2 separate regions of the Homo sapiens genome follow, and region 2 is linked to region 1. Evidence: promoter capture Hi-C in human tissues and cell types (Jung and others, 2019). All regions are on one chromosome and are shown on one strand. The core of a region is centred on a gene start or on the middle of the fragment in contact, and the rest is flanking DNA. Distances in the headings are between cores, read along the strand shown. Region 1 holds the start of GZMB (granzyme B). Region 2 has its middle 4.5 kb from the start of CTSG.

Region 1 (4,698 bases), core at 710-3,209:
AATGGGAATATTATTTTTCCATTAAAAAGAACGAATACTGGCATGTGCTACAGCTTGTATGAATCTCAGAAACATTATTACAAGTGAATGTAGCCAGCCACAACAGGTCATGTATTGTGTGATTCCGTTTATATGAAATATCCAGAGGTGGTGGTTGCAGATTTTGAATGTGCTAAATGTCACTGAATTGAATACTTTAAAATGGTTAATTGTATGTTATGTGAATTTTACCTCAATTTTTTAAATGGGTCATAAACTTATGTTTAGCATAATCCCCTTTTAATTTTAAAAAATGCAGATATTACATGAGAAAAAATGTGCTAGAGCATATTTCAAGACATTAAAGATGGTTATCAGTGAATGATGAGAAATTAGGTAATGTTTATTATTTTCGCTTTGCTAAAATTATTTAAAAATTACTTGCATATTAAATTTTTTAATGCCTAGGAAAGAAAGACTATAGTTGTATTGACTAAGATTTCTACGAGCATGGGGAAAATGCTTAATTTGTAGGGTTAATCAAGGATAAAATAAATTGCATTGTATGTACAATGTGATCCCAAGTATTTAAAACACACTGCTTATGGTAACAGTCAGTCTGTGGGAGACAGGTTAAAAAGTGATATTTTCCCTTCCTACTTTCCAAATTTTCTTAACAAACATATATTATGACTATAATCAGAAAAAATTATTTTTAAAACGTCTACTATGGGGCAAGCTAGGTTCAAAAAATAGAAGTTTGATAAATGTAGTTGGCTTGCTATTGACAAGGAAGACGTTTACACTGGAATTCTATATTTTGAGATATACCATTCCTCATAGAAAAATTTCCTCACAGAAAATATAAAGGTGGAAACAAATCACAAGAATCGAACCATGTAGAGAGACTTAGTTGTCTTTTAACAGAATTGGGCACGGGCTGTTCAGAAACAACAATCTTTCACATCCATTATAATGATAGCATTAGTGTAGTTTGTTTAGCAAATGTTTACTGTGAGCCTGTTATGTGCTGAGCCTGCTATGTAAGAAGTGTGGCTCTCTGGACAGGAGACAGAATACTAAACAACACAACTACTGATCTTTGGCTGCCTGGCATGCTTCCTCACTTCATATGGTATCAGCAATTTAGCACCACAAACGTCCTTTAGAGAACCAGCCCTTTCTCATTCTTGGTTCTAGTGGCTTGAGTAGACTGACCCCAGCCTACCCAAAGTGGATTTGACTCCTAGCAATTCATTAATCTAGCCCAATAAAATGTCAAGTACAGGACTTTTATTGAAAGCATTCAGAAAAGAGGTGGACTCTCACACTAAACATTTGTAACTAAATAAGGGATGTTAGAAATTCTCTAGAAAGGAAGCTATGATAATAAATGGGTTGCTAGATGGGTCTAGTAGATGGTGGCCATGCTTTGTTACTGCCTTGTGTATTGTGCTACCATAGCCCTCCCCAAACTGTACTCTGGCTCCTGGCATTTCCGTCTCTTCAACCAGATGGTCAGCTCTCTAAGTGAAGGAGACACATCTCCAACATGCTTGGTTCTAGCACAACAGAAGGGCTCAAACACATACCTGCTAAAGAAACTATCCTGATGGATTTAGCAGCATGGCCATGAGGCATTGGCGGTTCTATCACTGGGAACTCAGGTTTCTGGTGCTCCAGTACCTCTACTGGCTGATACCACATCCTACAATTCACTTCATAGGCTTGGGTTCCTGCTCTGGGCTGAATAGGTGGTCCACTCTGAGTCATCAGCTGTGGGTGATGATGTGGTCACTGCATGATTCTCACACAAGCACCCAGAGGACGTCATCAGGCAGAGGCAGTGGGGGTGGGCAGCATTTACAGAAAATCTGTGATGAGACACCACAAAACCAGAGGGGAACATGAAGTCACTGAGCCTGCTCCACCTCTTTCCTCTCCCAAGAGCTAAAAGAGAGCAAGGAGGAAACAACAGCAGCTCCAACCAGGGCAGCCTTCCTGAGAAGATGCAACCAATCCTGCTTCTGCTGGCCTTCCTCCTGCTGCCCAGGGCAGATGCAGGTGAGTGACCGTCTCCACCCTCGGGGGCCCAACCCCATCCCACAGGTCTCCTGCCCTTTCTCCACATTCCTGATCCATCTATCTACCAGGAATGTTCTGAACTCCAGCTCCCATTCTACCAAGACCCCCCAAGTGTGATGCTGGATAAGCTATCAGCAGGAATGGCAGAGCAGCAGGCCATTCTCAAGAAGAGCCAGTGGGTACTATCCCTTCCCCAGAGCCCACCTTTGTCACCTGGAGAGTAGGACTTTCCTAGAAGTAAATGGCAGAGGATGGGAAACTAGAAAAGAGAAATATTAAATTATTCTAGAGTAGGCCTGGCTTCTGTTTCTGGGATAAGACAGGTGCTTCTCTCACTGTCTACTTAGGAGAGAAACCCAGAGCTCAGCTGACAGCAGAATTGGTACAATCACTGTCCTCAGAACACTGTTAATGTGTTTGCTCAGTCCCATTCTCCAACTCTGCTTTTCTTCCCTGGCCTTTGGTGGCTCCCCTCTTTCCAAGGATGAGGCACTACGGCAGGCCCCAGCTTCCCTGCTTTCTAGAATTCCACCAGCACTGCTCTACCAGCCCTCATCCAGAGGCTAACTGGAGCCAGTCCATCATGCAGCCATGAACATTTACTGGGCACCCACTACATGTCAGGCTCTAGGAAACAGGATATGACAGTATCTAGATCCCTCCACTTACACCCTGGCCATTAGAAAGCAGCACTATCCTAGACACCACAGGACTCATAAGGGTCTTGGAAACTCACCTGAAACAAAGCAAAGTCAGGAGAGGAATGATCAGGAGCCTCTGGGATTTCACTGTCCCTAAGACAGGTATGCTCGCCTTCAACTACATATGGAAGAAAGATTTACAGACCAAAGTCTGCTGTTCTTCCCTTTTTCAGAGCAGGAAATTGAAGCCCCTTCCTCCAGGCCACTCCCAACTCCAGGCTATCCCAGGCTCCCAAATGCCCAGGAGTTCTGGAGCCACTAAGCAGGTGCCCACCCAGCAGATTCCATGGGTGCCCACAAGCAGACAGACTTTTCCTTCAGGGGAGATCATCGGGGGACATGAGGCCAAGCCCCACTCCCGCCCCTACATGGCTTATCTTATGATCTGGGATCAGAAGTCTCTGAAGAGGTGCGGTGGCTTCCTGATACGAGACGACTTCGTGCTGACAGCTGCTCACTGTTGGGGAAGGTGAGGAGCAGAAAACAGCCCACACCCTCCTGGAAACACTCCACAGAGACCCCTGCCTTCTTCCCAAGGAGCTCCCTGGGCTCCTGTGAACACACATGCCAGGAGGTCTCCTTAGAGGGTGAGAAAAGGGCAGTTAAGTTTGTGGAGAGAGGGGAAGGTTGGTTCCAGAGGTGCTGCTGAAGTAAGAAACAGCAGAGTGACCAAGCCTGCCATATTTAGAACTGGGGGCATACTTTGGCATAGAATACAAACTGAAGCAATTCCACCTGTGTTTCTAGGGGGAACCGAACCCTGAGAAACCTGGTGCAATTACCAGAATTCCAATTCCTGGGGACCGACTGTCCCCTTAATTTCCCCTCAGCTGCAGCCCTGCCCCAGCTGTCACCTGCTCTTCACTGTCTCTGGGCTGTATACCCTGTGACTCCACCCCCATCCTCACTCTGCTCTCTGTGCAGCTCCATAAATGTCACCTTGGGGGCCCACAATATCAAAGAACAGGAGCCGACCCAGCAGTTTATCCCTGTGAAAAGACCCATCCCCCATCCAGCCTATAATCCTAAGAACTTCTCCAACGACATCATGCTACTGCAGGTGAGGCACACTCCTGCCACTCTTGCTCTTCTTGGTCCAGTTGGTTCCACTCCCCCTGGAATGCCGGCCCTTCCCTCCTTTCCATCCTGGCCTCTTGGTTAGTTCCTATGCCTCAGAGGAGAGGGAAGATTGTGCAGCCCCATCACTGTGTCGGGGCCCAGAAGTTCGTTGGCTGACCTGGACTTTCTTGCCTCTTCCCCACCAGCTGGAGAGAAAGGCCAAGCGGACCAGAGCTGTGCAGCCCCTCAGGCTACCTAGCAACAAGGCCCAGGTGAAGCCAGGGCAGACATGCAGTGTGGCCGGCTGGGGGCAGACGGCCCCCCTGGGAAAACACTCACACACACTACAAGAGGTGAAGATGACAGTGCAGGAAGATCGAAAGTGCGAATCTGACTTACGCCATTATTACGACAGTACCATTGAGTTGTGCGTGGGGGACCCAGAGATTAAAAAGACTTCCTTTAAGGTAAGACTATGCACCTGCCTGGATTGGCTCTTGGGAGAAAGATGTTTGGGGAATATCTGAGACCTGGAGACTCAAGTAGTGGGGGACTCCTTCACCCACTAGACTGTGATATTTCTCTCTGGAAAGAGAAGAGGGGACTAGACTGAGCTGGGGAGAAATTAGGGCCTCTGCAAACTTACCAGGAGGCTTATGGTGGATGGTGCTTCTTTGGAAGGATGAATTTGCAACACTCCACCCACTCCAGGTCACAGATATTAGGAAACTGTGCCCACTGGGGGTGCAGTAATTATAACCAGGTGTGTCTTCAGAGGCTGGTACCCAACGTGGTTAATGGGCTGGTCCTCCATGGTGGACATCAGCCCTCCTTGCCCACTTCTGGGTCCTTAAACAGCCAACGGTCCCACATA
Region 2 (4,698 bases), core at 1,085-3,584, 53 kb after region 1:
CAAAACCACAGTGAGATATAATCTGATGTCAGTTATAATGCTATTATCAAAAAGACAAAATATAAGGAATGCTGGTGAGGATGCAGAGAAAAGGAAACTGTTATTCACTGTTGGTGGGAATATAAATTAGTACAGCAATTATGGAAAACAGTATGGAGGTTTCACCAAAAAAAAAAAAATAGAGCTACCACATGATCCAGCATTTCCACTACTGGGTATTTATTCAAATGAAAGGAAATCAGTATATCAAAGGGATACCTGCACTTCCATGTTTATGCAGCACTACCCACAGTAGCAAAGATATGTAATCAACCTAAATGTTCACCAATGGATGAATTGATAAGGAAAAAAATTACATATATACATTCACACACACACACACACACAAATATCACCTTTACCTTTCTCACATCTACCCAGGATCTCAGAGGCACTGCTCAATCTTAGAAGTAAGCCTTTCTGCCAGGAAACATGAAAGACCTTGAATCTTTTTTCAAATCTTTCTCTGCCATAGCCAGGGCTTGTGCATTGCCTGTTTCCCTCTAACTACTCTGATGAGAAGATTTTAATCAACTCCCAGTGATTTTGCTACAGCAAAGTATGCATTTCAGGACCCTCTGAGGGGTTCACTCTTTCCTTTGTCACCTTTTCTTTCCTACAAAAATGACAACACAGGCCAGTTCTTGGCAAGAAAGCATCTGGCTCCCTGAAGACAACTGTGGTTGGAAGACAATGACTCTGGCACAGCCCTCTCTCAGCACCGACACTTAATAAAGCAATCACAAGTTCATCAGTGGGAACTTCCCAAGGAGCTTCCAAAATGTCCTTTTAAGAGTGATTTTAAGGTAGCTCTGAGGGTCTGGAGTGACTCAGTACTATGCTGGTCTCCTACAAAGCCAAGAGGAACTAGATTGGTTACTGACTAGAGTAGCATCAGAGGAAATGAGGGGGATTTGACCCAGCAACAACTGGCAACTGCCTTCTCAGAGGATTTGCATTGTCCGCGGCTTATGGGGCCCAGGGAGGAGGTGGAAAACGTCCTACATTAATGTCCCAACATCCCAGAGGAGAAAAAAATTATAACTGACGGAAATGTAATAAAACAGTCAAAAGCAGATGTAACCAGCTATAGATATTGTGAAACATATTGGTCTTTTTGTTCAAATATTACAATTTTTATTAAAATAAAAAATAAATTAAAAGTATGTGCCCCACTCTACTCATATATATTCCCCTCTCCATCTGAATGTTCTCTCTAATCCCCATCCTCTGGCAATCAGATTTTTTTTTAAATGTATTACAAAATATACACACAAGAGAAGTTGATAAAACATAAATGGAGAGTTTAAAGAATAATTATAAGTTAAACACTACATTTTATGTCGGGAAATTGGGTTTGTTCAACACTACTGAAATCTGCCATATGTTTCTTCCTACTCAAAATGCTCTCTCTGTCCTCCAATTCCAGAGTTAACTACTATTCTGACTTTGGTGATAACTATTTCCTTGCTTTTCATTATACATTTACCATATATATACATATATATATGGTACATGTATATATATACATATATACATATATACATATATATGTATATATATGTATATGTATGTATGTATTTCTATCCAGTATAGTTTCATTTTGCCTAGTTTTGAACTTTATATAAATAAAATTAAAGTTGTCTTCTTGGGTTCTTTTAACTTATGCTTGTAAGATTCATTTGCATAGCTGCATGAAGGAAGAGTTTTATTTTTATGGCTATGCAATATTCCATTATATGAATATACTACAATTTGATTATTCATGCTGCTGTTAGTGGACCTTCGAAGTGTTTCCAGTTTGAGGCTATCTTGAACATGCTGCTATGACCTTCTTGGACATGTATCTGGTAGAAATTTGCACCCGATGTTTCTCTAGGGTATATACCTAGGATTGGGAAAAGAGCCAACATGGTAGCTGCAACTGTTATTGCACTTTTTTCTTTTTTCTTTCCTTGAGACAGGGTCTTGTCTTGTCACCCAGGCTGGAATGCAATGGCACAATCATGGCTCACTGCAGCCTCAACTCCCACTTCAGCCTTCCAAGTAGCTGGGACTACAGGCACATGCCATCACACACAGTCTCGAACTCTTGGGCTCAAGTGATCCCCTCACCTTGGCCTCCCAAAGTGCTGGGATTACAGGCATGAGCCACCATACGTGGCCTTCATTGTGCTTCAAATGGGTGCTTCTCTAATATCTAGTCAGAGTAACACTTTTTCATGTTTATTGACCACTTCGATTTCCTGTTTTGAGATAAAACTGTTCAAGTCTTTTGGCTATTGTTTTATTAAGTTAATTGTCTTCTTCATTGCAAGTTTTTGTTTTGTTTTGTTTTGAGAGTCTCACTTTGTTGCCCAGTGAGGCAATCTCCACTTACAGCAACCTCAGCCTCCCCAGTTCCCCAAGCGATTCTCCTGCCTCAGCCTTCCGAGTAGCTGAAGTTACAAGTATGTGCCACCATCCTGGCTAATTTTTTTGTGTATGTTCCTAGTAGAGACAGGTTTTCACCATGTTGGTCAGGCTGGTCTCCAACTCCTGACCTCAAGTGATCGACCCGCCTCGGTCTCCCAAAGTGCTGGGACATGGGTGAGCCACTGCACCTGGCCAGATTTCTGAGTTCTTTATGTAATTTGAATATAAGCCCTTTGTTGTTTATGTGTATTTCAAGCATCTTTGCCTACTCCATGAATGGTCTTTTGTTTCTCTCAATTTAGATGTGTCAAATTCATCAGTCCTTTTCTTCATTATTAGTACTTTATATACAGTACTAAAATCTTTACCTATCATGAAGATATTCTTCCATTATATATTCAAATCATTATTCCTACTTGGATCCATAATCTACCTAGAATAGGTTTTTTGATATTTTGGGAGAAGAAGGTCAAGTTTTATTTTTCCACATAGAAAATATTTGTCTCTATAGGACACCATAAAGGCAATTTATTATCCCAGTACCATTTATTGGGGATAAAAAAAGAAAATAGTCTTTTCCCTATTATGATGAAAGATGCAACATCCATCATAAATCAATCCATCCATGTGTATGTCAGCGTCCACATGCGTGTGGAGTCCTTATTTCTGGTCCATTAGTCCATGTTTCTATGCCTCATCAATACCACGCTATCTTCATTCCCATGGCTTTGTTTGCAAAAGCAAGTCTTCCATCTTATTCTCATTCTCTAATGGTGACCTGGCTATCATTAGCCTTTTGTTTTCCAAATATACTTACAATCAGTTAAGTTCTATAAAATACCGCTCGGTGCAATGAATCTATATAGATCAATTTTGGGAGAGCTGACATTTTTACAATATTTAGTCTTCTTCCAATCTATGAACATGGAATCTCTTCATGTTTAGGTCTTCTTGAATGTCTCTTCATTCAGTTTTATAATTTTCACCAAAGAGGTCTTTCACATATTCTTTTAGATTTACATTTAGTTATTTGATCATTTCCATGCCATTTAAGTATTACTTTCTAAAAATTTCTTTCTAACAGTGTTGCAGTACATGTAGAAATATGATTAATTTTTAAATTGATTTTTTCTAGCAAATCTGTAAAACTCTTATTAATTATGGTAATTTACCTGTAGATGATTTTGGATTGTCTACGTATACTATCACTTCCTCAAATCATTACAATTTTGTTTTCTCTTTTCCTGTCTTTATACCTTTCATTTCCATTTCCTACCTAACTGCACTGGCTAAAACTGCTAATGTACTGTTTGTTGAACAGAACTGATAATAATTTGTATTCAGGCATTATTGTAATGTTTTGCTCTCAAAAAAAGGTTTTAACACTTTTCCATTAGGTATAATGATTGCTGTGGGAATTTTGTGATAACTTCTATCAGATTAAAGACACTCTTTTTATTCCTAGTCTGCTAAGAGTATTTTTTAAGTAAATAAGGGTAAATTTTAGGCCTTCATTGTTTCAATTAAATAATCACATGATGTTTCTTCTTTAGTCAGTTCATATGATGTGTTACAGCAATTTTGCTTTTCAAATGAAAAGTCAACTATGTGTTCCTAGAATAAACCCAAATTACTTATGATATATTAATATCTATTTGCTTATTGATTGATTTGGTTTGCATCAATATTCAAAAGTTTATTGACCTATAATGTTTCATTTCTATATTGTCTCTATTGGGTTTGGCATGGAGGTTATGCTAGTCCCATAAAGGGAAGGGTAGCATCCGTTCTTCAGAAGAAACTATATAGCATACTTTAAATATTTTCTACAGATTTCTCCTTAATGTGGTCATCAAAAACAAAAGTTGAAATTTTGTGGATTCAGCACATTCCCTTGGAACAATAGCAGCTTCCTAACTAGACTCTCATTATTCCTTCAACTTGATCTGATAGTCACTTCAATGCTGGTAGTTCTTCGAGGTTTGTAAGCTTTTTAGATATCTTAAATAGCTTTGATTACTTTTAATGAGAAGATTGCATGAAATTCTAGGTCACTATTAATGAAATTTCCTAATCAATCTTTATTACATGAGTGAATGCATATATTTTACTCCTTTTTTTTCATATGTGCAGGTTTTTCTTTATCCCTTTCTTCTATTTTTAAGTTAAACTAACATTTTTAAAACAAAACAAAATGTTGAAAATTTTTAATAAATTAAATTATGCCAAATGCTAAGGCACTAA

The links. Contacts are between HindIII fragments. The study calls those that stand out against the background at their distance.
Region 2: a contact is called between a fragment that was not itself captured here and the fragment with the promoter of GZMB in region 1, in 1 of the 25 tissues and cell types used here (thymus).

Annotation. Positions count from the first base shown.
Region 1 is chr14:24,631,451-24,636,148 of GRCh38, reverse strand. GZMB (granzyme B) reads left to right here and starts at 1,959. Exons shown (of 5, transcript NM_004131.6): 1 at 1,959-2,043; 2 at 3,087-3,234; 3 at 3,690-3,825; 4 at 4,031-4,291. The coding sequence starts at 1,989. It overlaps GZMH-AS1 (GZMH and GMZB antisense RNA 1), which reads right to left and starts at 3,047. Exons shown (of 3, transcript XR_007064087.1): 1 at 2,801-3,047; 2 at 1-1,853. RefSeq lists an enhancer at 1,381-2,580. The HindIII fragment of the contact is 16,614 bases long and covers 1-4,698 here.
Region 2 is chr14:24,578,393-24,583,090 of GRCh38, reverse strand. No RefSeq gene overlaps it. Among named protein-coding and RNA genes, the nearest start is that of CTSG, 4.5 kb to the right of the region's middle. The HindIII fragment of the contact is 5,672 bases long and covers 1-4,698 here.